Regions from separate parts of the Homo sapiens genome. Here region 1 is linked to region 2. The links are contacts of gene promoters, found by promoter capture Hi-C in blood cells and fetal thymus (Javierre and others, 2016). All regions are on one chromosome and are shown on one strand. Each heading gives the region's core, a stretch centred on a gene start or on the middle of the fragment in contact. The rest is flanking DNA. Distances are from core to core; before and after follow the strand shown.

Evidence for each region. The method cuts DNA at HindIII sites, captures the fragments that hold promoters and counts their contacts. A CHiCAGO score of 5 or more calls a contact.
Region 1: a fragment that was not itself captured here is called in contact with the fragment with the promoter of S100A12 in region 2 in 2 of 17 cell types (neutrophils and monocytes); the score reaches 7.5 in neutrophils.

Annotation. Positions count from the first base shown.
Region 1 is chr1:153,637,179-153,641,610 of GRCh38, forward strand. CHTOP (chromatin target of PRMT1) reads left to right here. Exons shown (of 6, transcript NM_015607.4): 3 at 1,117-1,270. Among named protein-coding and RNA genes, the nearest start is that of CHTOP, 5.3 kb to the left of the region's middle. The HindIII fragment of the contact is 1,416 bases long and covers 1,115-2,530 here.
Region 2 is chr1:153,374,345-153,378,848 of GRCh38, forward strand. S100A12 (S100 calcium binding protein A12) reads right to left here and starts at 1,277. Exons shown (of 3, transcript NM_005621.2): 1 at 1,208-1,277; 2 at 111-268. The coding sequence starts at 248. The HindIII fragment of the contact is 5,829 bases long and covers 1-1,375 here.

The DNA.
Region 1 (4,432 bases), core at 573-3,072, 260 kb after region 2:
CTTCCATTCCATTATACTTCCTTGACAGAAATAATGAGTCTCTTCACAGGCTCATAAATGATCAAACTGATGTAACTTTGAAAAGTAACTACTTGGAGTCAGAAAAAGTGATGATTGGAGACTAAGAAAAGTAAAGATATTCAAAGGCAGTTTCTATCTCTGACAACTTTGTTCATTAAGAGTGCCTTTGTTTAGGCGCGGTGGCTCATGCCTGTAATCCCAGCACTTTGGCAGGCTGAGGCGGGCGGATCACGAGGTCAGGAGTTTGAGATCAGCCTGCCCAACATGGTGAAACCCTGTCTCTACTAAAAATAGAAAAATTAGCTGGGCGTGGTGGCGTGTGCCTATAATCCCAGCTACTCAGGAGGCTGAGGTAGGAGAATCACTTGAACCCGTGAGGCGAAGGTTGCAGTGAGCCAAGATCCTGCCACTGCACTCCAGCCAGGGCAACAGAGGACAGAGTGAGGCTCCGTTTCAAAAAAAAGAATGCCTTTGATCAGTGATTTCATTAAGTTGACTTTCGACCACTGAAATTTACTTAATGTCTATTTTTGCCTCTTCTGAGGCATATGTGCTTCTCTCCTTATCTCTTTGGCTATGATAAGCTAATTATTTATGTTTGCATAATATTTATGTTTGCATGTTAGTGACATATATTTTAAAATGTGATACACTCCTGTAATTTATGAGAGTATGTTCATTGCTGTGAGCTTTGAAGGTGCTCTAATCCTTCCTCATATTTGGCCTTAGAATGCACCTCGGATCCCCCAAGGTTTAGGCTTTCTTCATTTGTCTTTGAAACTATATCTTCTGTCTCTTGTCATATCTGCTTATTGCGTGTTTTTCATACCTTCCACCTCTCTAAAAGCCGTTACCTGAGCCCTCGTTATCACTTTTGGTTGAATGTGCTGCACTTAGCTGCATTTCTAAGTTTCTGATTCTTGCAAGTTTGTGGAAACAGAGGAGTCTTTAACCCACATCAGCCTTGATCTAAGTGTACCACTTTACTTAAAAGTTCGTGGGATCTGGAGCTCCTGGTCTAGCAAGCCATGAAAATGCCAATAAATGTTTGTAATAAAGCTTTTATTTAAACATCCATTTTGTTCGACCTTGAAGCTTTACTAATATGCTGAAGAACAAACAGCCGACGCCAGTGAATATTCGGGCTTCGATGCAGCAACAACAGCAGCTAGCCAGTGCCAGAAACAGAAGACTGGCCCAGCAGATGGAGAATAGACCCTCTGTCCAGGCAGCATTAAAACTTAAGCAGGTGAGAGAATGGGTCTTAATGCTCCAGAAGCAGCTGGTGATCTCTGTGAGGGAGTCCACTGAGGCTGTCAGGACGTGATGGATGATTGCAAAGTGGCTCAGGGCAAAAAGCTGAAACTTCTCTGGAAGAAAGAGAAGTTCAGAGAATTCCAATTTTGGCAGGTACCAATAAGTAACTTTTTACTGTCTTTCTCTTTTAGGGAGTTTGCCATCTATGTGGCCTGTTTCTGTTACCAATGAGTATTAATCTTTTGTTTTCTGATCCTTAACCCTTAACATAGATTAATGGCTTATTCCACAAAGAAACTTTATTTCAGCTTTAGATAATCTCACAGCATCCTTTACTCTCTGTTAAATGATTTACCCAACAGGGAAATAATTTTATTCTTTTTCCCATAGTGCAGGGAGTTTGCATGGCCTTAGTCAAAGGTTTTCTTTTTTTTTTTTTTTTTAGACGGAGTCTTGCTCTGTCGCCCAGGCTGGAGTGCAGTGGCACGATCTCGGCTCACTGCAAGCTCCGCCTCCCGGGTCCATACCATTCTCCTGCCTCAGCCTCCCGAACAGCTGGGACTAAAGGTGCCCGCCACCACACCCAGCTAATTTTTTTGTATATTTAATAGAGACAGGGTTTCACCATACTAGCCAGGATGGTCTCGATCTCCTGACCTCGTGATCCACCCGCCTCGGCCTCCCAAAGTGCTGGGATTACAGGCTTGAGCCACCGCGCCCAGCAGTCAAAGGTTTTCAATGCTAAAATATACAGAGTAGAGTGACCCTCATTTCCACAGCACCTAAAGTTTTACCAGTAAAGTGGAGCAAGAATACTGAGTAATTTGAGTTAGGGGTTCTCTTTTTCAAATTTACAGTGAGAGATAATCCTATTCAGACCTGAAATAAAACCTGCTCTTTATTATTCATAGAATTTATATGCAAGTCCGGACAGTGGCTGTGGAAGGATATGTCCAAGCTGTGGCTGGGCGTCTGGAGGGCAGTGCCATGCAACTGTAAGGGCTTTGGTAGCATTGCATGGCTATGCATAAATTCAGCAGTTAAATATAACACCCTTACACCCCCACCCTGAACCATTGGGCTCACTGACCAAAAATAAACAAGGGTGTCTGCTTCGGCTACCTTAAGCCTTGGAGTGACTGGATTCCTCCCTGACTCAGGAAAGCAGCAAAAGGCACCATTTTCCAAGAGTAAATGGAAGTTGCTGAAGATGAATCTCTGACAGATCATTCCAAAGGACCTTTCAACAAGAAGCTTTAAGTATAGGCTCTGCAGGAAGTAGTCCCTATCCAGAGTAGTACTATTAAATAGAATTTTTTTATGTTTTTGGTTTGGTTTGGTTTGGTTTGTTTTGAGACGGAGTCTTGCTCTGTCACCCAGGCTGTAGTGCAGTGGTGCAATCTCAACTCACTGCAGCCTCCGCCTCCCGGGTTCAAGCGATTCTCCTGTCTCAGCTACAGGCGCCCGCCACCACACCCGGCTAATTTTTGTATTTTTAGTAGAGACGGAGTTTTGTCATGTTGGCCAGACTGGTCTTGAACTCCTGACCTCAAGTGATCTGCCTGCCTCAGTATCCCAAAGTGTTCAGATTACAGGCATGAGCTACCGTGCCCAGCCAGAACTTTCTACAATGATGGAAATGTTCTGTATTTGCTCTCCGGTACAGTAGCCACTAGTCACATGTGGCTATTGAAAACTTTAAATGTGACTAGTGCAATTAAGGAGCTTAATTTTTTTTAATTTAATTTTAGGCCAGGCCTGTAATCCCAGCACTCTGGGAGGCCAAGGCAGGCGGATCACTTGAGGTCAGGAGTTTGAGACTAGCCTGGCCAATGTGGCAAAACCCCATCTCTACTAAAAAAAAAAAAAAGCCGGGCATGGTGGCGCATACCTGTAATCCCAGCTACTCAAGAGGCTAAGGAGAATCTCTTGAACCCAGGAAGTGGAGGTTGCGGTGAGTGGAGTTGGCACCACTGCATTCCAGCTTGGGTGACAGTGAGACTCTGTCTCAAGAAAATAAGTAAAATTTGCTTTTAATTTAGGCTGGGTATGGTGGCTCACACTTGTAATCCCAGCACTTTGGGAGGCCTGGGCAGGTGGATCACCTGAGGTCAGGAGTTCAAGACCAGCCTGGCCAACATGACAAGACCCCGTCTCCACCAAAAATAAGCCAGGCGTGATGACAGCTCCTGTAATCCCAGCTACTCGGGAGGCTGAGGCAGGAGAATTGTTTGAACCTGGGAGACGAAGGTTGCAGTGAGCCAAGATCGTGTCACTGCACTTCAGCCTGGGCAACAGAGCGAGACTGTATCTCAAAATAAAAATAATTGAAATAGCCACATGTAGCTATAGAGGCTGCCTTACACAGCACACCTCTAGAAGGGAAACTAAGTGGTATAGTTGACATCCTTAACTTCCCTGTTAATATTAAAGGCCGGTATTGGTGGCACTTAAGGATTGGAATGGGTAAAGAACTTCCCAGCACTGTACAGTTCTTTTAAAGCACAAAGCTTGGGAGAATTAATATATGCAGGATAACTGAACGCAAGAGACTTGTGGAATGCAGTTCTAACCTGATAATTGTGTGTTAATCGGGAGTAACAGGACAGGCCGTTACGGTTGGTTACACCTACTTATGCTAGATGCATAATGTTTGGAGCCTTCCCCACTGATGAGAAGCAATTTATGATCTTGTGCTAGAAAGTTAATAATGCTTCACAGCATCTTTTTGAGAGGTTGATTAGAAAACACACACATACACGTTGGTAGTCACTTGTGGGTGAAGCCTGAAGGGGCTATACAATTTATTTTCTTTCAGATTGACTGATGGCTTTATGGACAGCCAGGCTTACTAGGAGCTTGGTTGTGTTCAGGGCTATTGCTGTCCCTTTTTCCTTTGAAGGAATTTAATTCTCTGAGATGTAGTCTTAATGGTTTTCTTTTGAGAACAGATTCTTAAAAATACCCTATCTCTGTAGTGTGTCCTTGTTCTTATATATGGCCCTGAGTTTTGTGATCACCTGAATAATTCTAACATACGTTTGGCTGGCTGACTGTGGAGATACATTTGAGTTACATGTTTATTTTTAATTTAAGGTCATCATTGTTTTAAAGGAGCTGTTTGCAAGTGCAGGCATGGAATTAGGGATTTTTA
Region 2 (4,504 bases), core at 27-2,526:
ACTGGGGCCAACCCCACCCCAGTCCTTGTCCCACCATCCTCTGCCAGGCCTTGCCACTCCCCTCAGTGCAGGGTCATGGGCAAGTTTGCAGTGAGAGGGGCATCACCTACCTTGATGGTGTTTGCAAGCTCCTTTGTAAGCAGCTGCTTCAGCTCACCCTTAGAGAGGGTGTCAAAATGCCCCTTCCGAACTGAGTATTGGTGGAAGATATTGACAATTCCCTCCAGATGCTCTTCAAGTTTTGTCATCTTCCCAGCCTAATGTTAACCTTCAAGGAAACAAGGGAAGTCTAGAGGCAGTTTCTCCCCCACCCCTCAACCTCCACTCTCCCCTCTCTTTCTGAATCAAGGGCCTAAAGAAAACATAACATCCTCCATATCTATTTTGTGGTCTCTGCTCTGTTTGATCCATGGTGAACTTCTCATGTGTGGATAGGATGGGGAGGAGAAAACATATAATACTGTCTAACGTCTAAAAAAATCAGCCTCAGTTGCCCATGTTCCATACCACCTCATCCACCGGGGTGCATAACTTGGAGGGTATTGCTTACTCAAGGTCCCTTGGGAAGGGTTCTGTGATTGGCCAGGCTGTTTGCTTTCCTCAGGTGATGGCACTATGGCCACATATCCCCCACAAATGGTCCATAACCCACCCCTGCTTAGCCATTCTTTTTTTGTTGTTGTTGTTTTGGGTTTTTTGTTTGTTTGTTTGTTTGTTTTTGAGACGGAGTCTCACTCTGCCGCCCAGGCTGGAGTGCAGTAGGGCGATCTCGGCTCACTGCAAGTTCTGCCTCCCGGGTTCACGCCATTCTCCTGCCCCAGCCTCCCGAGTAGCTGGGACTACAGGCACCCGCCACCACGCCCGGCTAATTTTTTGTATTTTTTTAGTAGAGACGGGGTTTCACCATGTTAGCCAGGATGGTCTCGATCTCCTCACCTCATGATCCGCCCGCCTCGGCCTCCCAAAGTGCTGGGATTACAGGCGTGAGCCACCGTACCCGGCCTGCTTAGCCATTCTTAAATCATGGGACTGAGTCTACATAGCACAACAAGAGCTGATCTACTTGGGTCCAAAATGCAATATCACCCCAGAGGTGCTCAGGCAAGTGGAGGGTTGTGGTTTCCAACACCTTGTGATTTCAAAGTGGTCACCTGCAGTCACTACCCTGTGGACCACCTAAGAACCCATCCAAGGAAAATGCACTTACCCCTCAATGCACAGGAATGTGGAGCTACAGCAAAAAGCCAGCAGTGGTGAAGGGCACTGAGCCAAGGAAGGTTTTATAATCAGTTCAGGCTTCATCTTAGCCCTTGGGTGAAGAAATCTCTGATTCATCTTGAGGCAATTTATGTAAAGTACTCTGTTGCTCAATAGAAGCTTCAAACCTGTGGCTTAGGCTGCCACAGGAGCAGCCCAGATTGTACCCAGACTGAATTTTGCCCTCCTGCTCAGCCTGAAACAAAATCACCCCCACTCCACCCACCCGCACAGGGGTGCCCTGAACCTTTTTTAGCCCTGAGCCAGGGCCCAGGTTTCAGGTTTAGCTCTACTCCACTGCTCCCTAATAAAAGACTAGGAGAACAAACTTTACAGCCTGAGTGTCTTGTTTTAACAGATGAGGTTACCAGCTCTTCAGTTTTGGCAAATGGAATATCAACTTAAAGATCTTTATGCAGCTAAGGAGATAGGTAGGGAGACCTCCTCCTAAGTCGTTCTGGGATGCAAAGTTCATCACTGGAGCAGAGGATCAGTTTTCAAAATAGATTCCAAGGTTTTCAAAAAAGGAGAGAGCAATGCTACTATGCCTCCCCTTTGCTTTCCCAACTTTCTAACTTGGCTGTTACAAAGACCTAGAAAGCTGGAGTAGGGTAATCATTGTGTGTGAAGAAAGTTCACCATGCCTAGGTTACTTTACCATGTTCATGAGTTCAGTAAGACAGAACATTCACACGAGTTTTAGTAAAGCAACTTTATTACTCACAGAGAGGCAGCAAGGGACAACAGATGCCCAGGATTCATGGAGAGGTGGTCCTTCAAGATTCAGAAACCTGCCCAAAATGGATTAAGTCTCATCTGTACATTCCCCATGTCGCACCAAAGCTAAGGGACATCCAAAAGCACTCTGCCCTTGGTTTATGCCTAGAGGTCAATAAGATTGCTGAGCAATCAAGGCCATGCCAGAACCTGTGCTGCCATCTACCCCACAACACAGATATCCCCCTTAGCAAAGCTAGTTCATTTCATGTGCCCACCGACCTCTCTGGATCTGGAGGCAAAAGTCTGTCTCTCCGATCCATGTGTCACCTTGACTGACACAATCTCAGTGCAACATTGTTAAGCCATTGACAGTATTTGTTTCACTAGGCCCAGGAGGACACCACCAGAGCAGGATGATCAGGCTTGTGTAAATCAATGACAATGACCAAGGTGAATCTCAATCATTTTAGGAGGTTTATTTGGCCAAAGTTAAGGATGCGTGCCCAGAGGTAGGTCTACGTCTTTCTCCAAAGATGATTTTGAGGGCTTCAATATTTGAAGGAGAAACAGTGGATATTGGGGGAAGAGGAAGAAATATTTTTTAAATGTGTCAGTAGATAAGAGACAAGTGATTGCATCCTTTTGAGTCTTTGATCAATCTTTCACTGAATACACAATTTTCATGTGGGAGCGGAGTAGAGGAAATAGTCACTTATGCCTTCATCTGGCTCAGTGAATCTGCATTTTTACATAAGATAACAAAAATAGGGGAGAGGAAGCAATCAGATATGGATTTGTCTTGGGTGAGCAGAGGGATGACTTTATGTTCTGCCCTTTGTCCCACACCTGTGAAGATAAGCTGTCAATTACACTGCCAGGGTGAAATTCAATAGAACTGTTTTAGGGTAAAGATCTTGAGGCTCACAAGGAATTTCCTTGTGGGCAAGTTGTGAGATTGGTGTATGGCTTTTTATCTTTGTAGCTATCTTATTTAGAAACCAACCTGGGTGGGGGCAGGCTTGCATGACCCATTTCCCAGCTTGACTTTTCCCTCTGGCTTAGTAAGTTTGGGATCCTGAGATGTTTTTTTTTTTTCACATCTGCCTGGAGAAGGGACTAGCCCAGGATCCCAGCCATCCAGGCAAGAGGTTGCTAAATGCGGATCACGAGGTCAGGAGATCGAGACCATCCTGGCTAAGATGGTGAAACCCCATCTCTACTAAAAATACAAAAAATTAGCCAGGCATGGTGGCAGGCACCTGTAGTCCCAGATACTCAGGAGGCTGAGGCAGGAGAATGGCGTGAACCCACAAGGCGGAGCTTGCAGTGAACCGAGATCGCGCCACTGCACTCCAGCCTGGGCAACAGAGTGAGACTCCCTCTCAAAAAAAAAAAATAGAAATCAAAAAAGCAGGAACACAGCCTCACATACAAATATTAACCTCCAATGTGAATGGCCTAAACACTGCACTTAAAACACATACCTTGGCAAATTCGATTTAAAAACAAGACCCATCCTTCTGCTGTCTTCAAGCACCTGTCTCATGTGTAATGACACCTGTAGATTCAAAGTAAAGGGATGGAGAAAGATCTATCATGCAAACAGAAAACAAAAAAGAGCAGAGGTTGCTATTCTTGAATCAGATCCGATAGACTGTAAGCCAACAACAGTAAAAAAGGATAAAGAAGGGCATTACATAGTGATAAAGGGTTCGATTTAACAAGAAAATTTAACCATCCTAAATAAATACACACCCAACACTGGAGCACCCAGATTTATAAAATAAGTACTTCTGCATCTAAGAAAAGATTTTGGCAGCCACACAATAATAGCAGGGGACAACACCCCACTGACATCAGTAGACAAATCATCAAGGCAGAAAACTAACAAAGAAATTATGGACTTAAATTTGACACTTGACCAATTAGACTTAATAGACATCTATAGAACAATGCACCCAACAACCACAGAATATATATTATTTTCATCTGCACATGGAACATACTCTAAGATCAACCACATGCTCAGTCATAAGGCAAATCTCAATAAATTCAAAAAAATCAAAATCATACCAAGAATCTTGGACCGCAGTGGAATAAAAATAGAAATCAATACCAAGAGGAACTCTCAAAACCACACAAATAAATGGAAACTAAACAACTTGTTCCTGACTTTTGGTTAAACAACAAAATTAAGGCAGAAATCAAAAAATTCTTTGAAACATACAAAAATAGAGACACAACACAACATATCAAAACATCTGGAATGTAGCAAAAGTAGTGTTAAGAGGGAATTTTTTTTTTCATCTTGGATGTGGGCGAATCTCATTTTAATTGCAAAAGACTTCATTCACAGCACATTCAATAATGGACCAACAGGAGAGTTGCTGGCTTTTGAACATATGAATATATAAAAATACCTTGCAACTTAGGTAGTCAAGATAATAAGTGCATAAAAGGAAAGCAATCCTCATTTTTCTGAAAACTTTTACATTTTAAAAGGTGACTAGGCATACTTGGAAGTTCA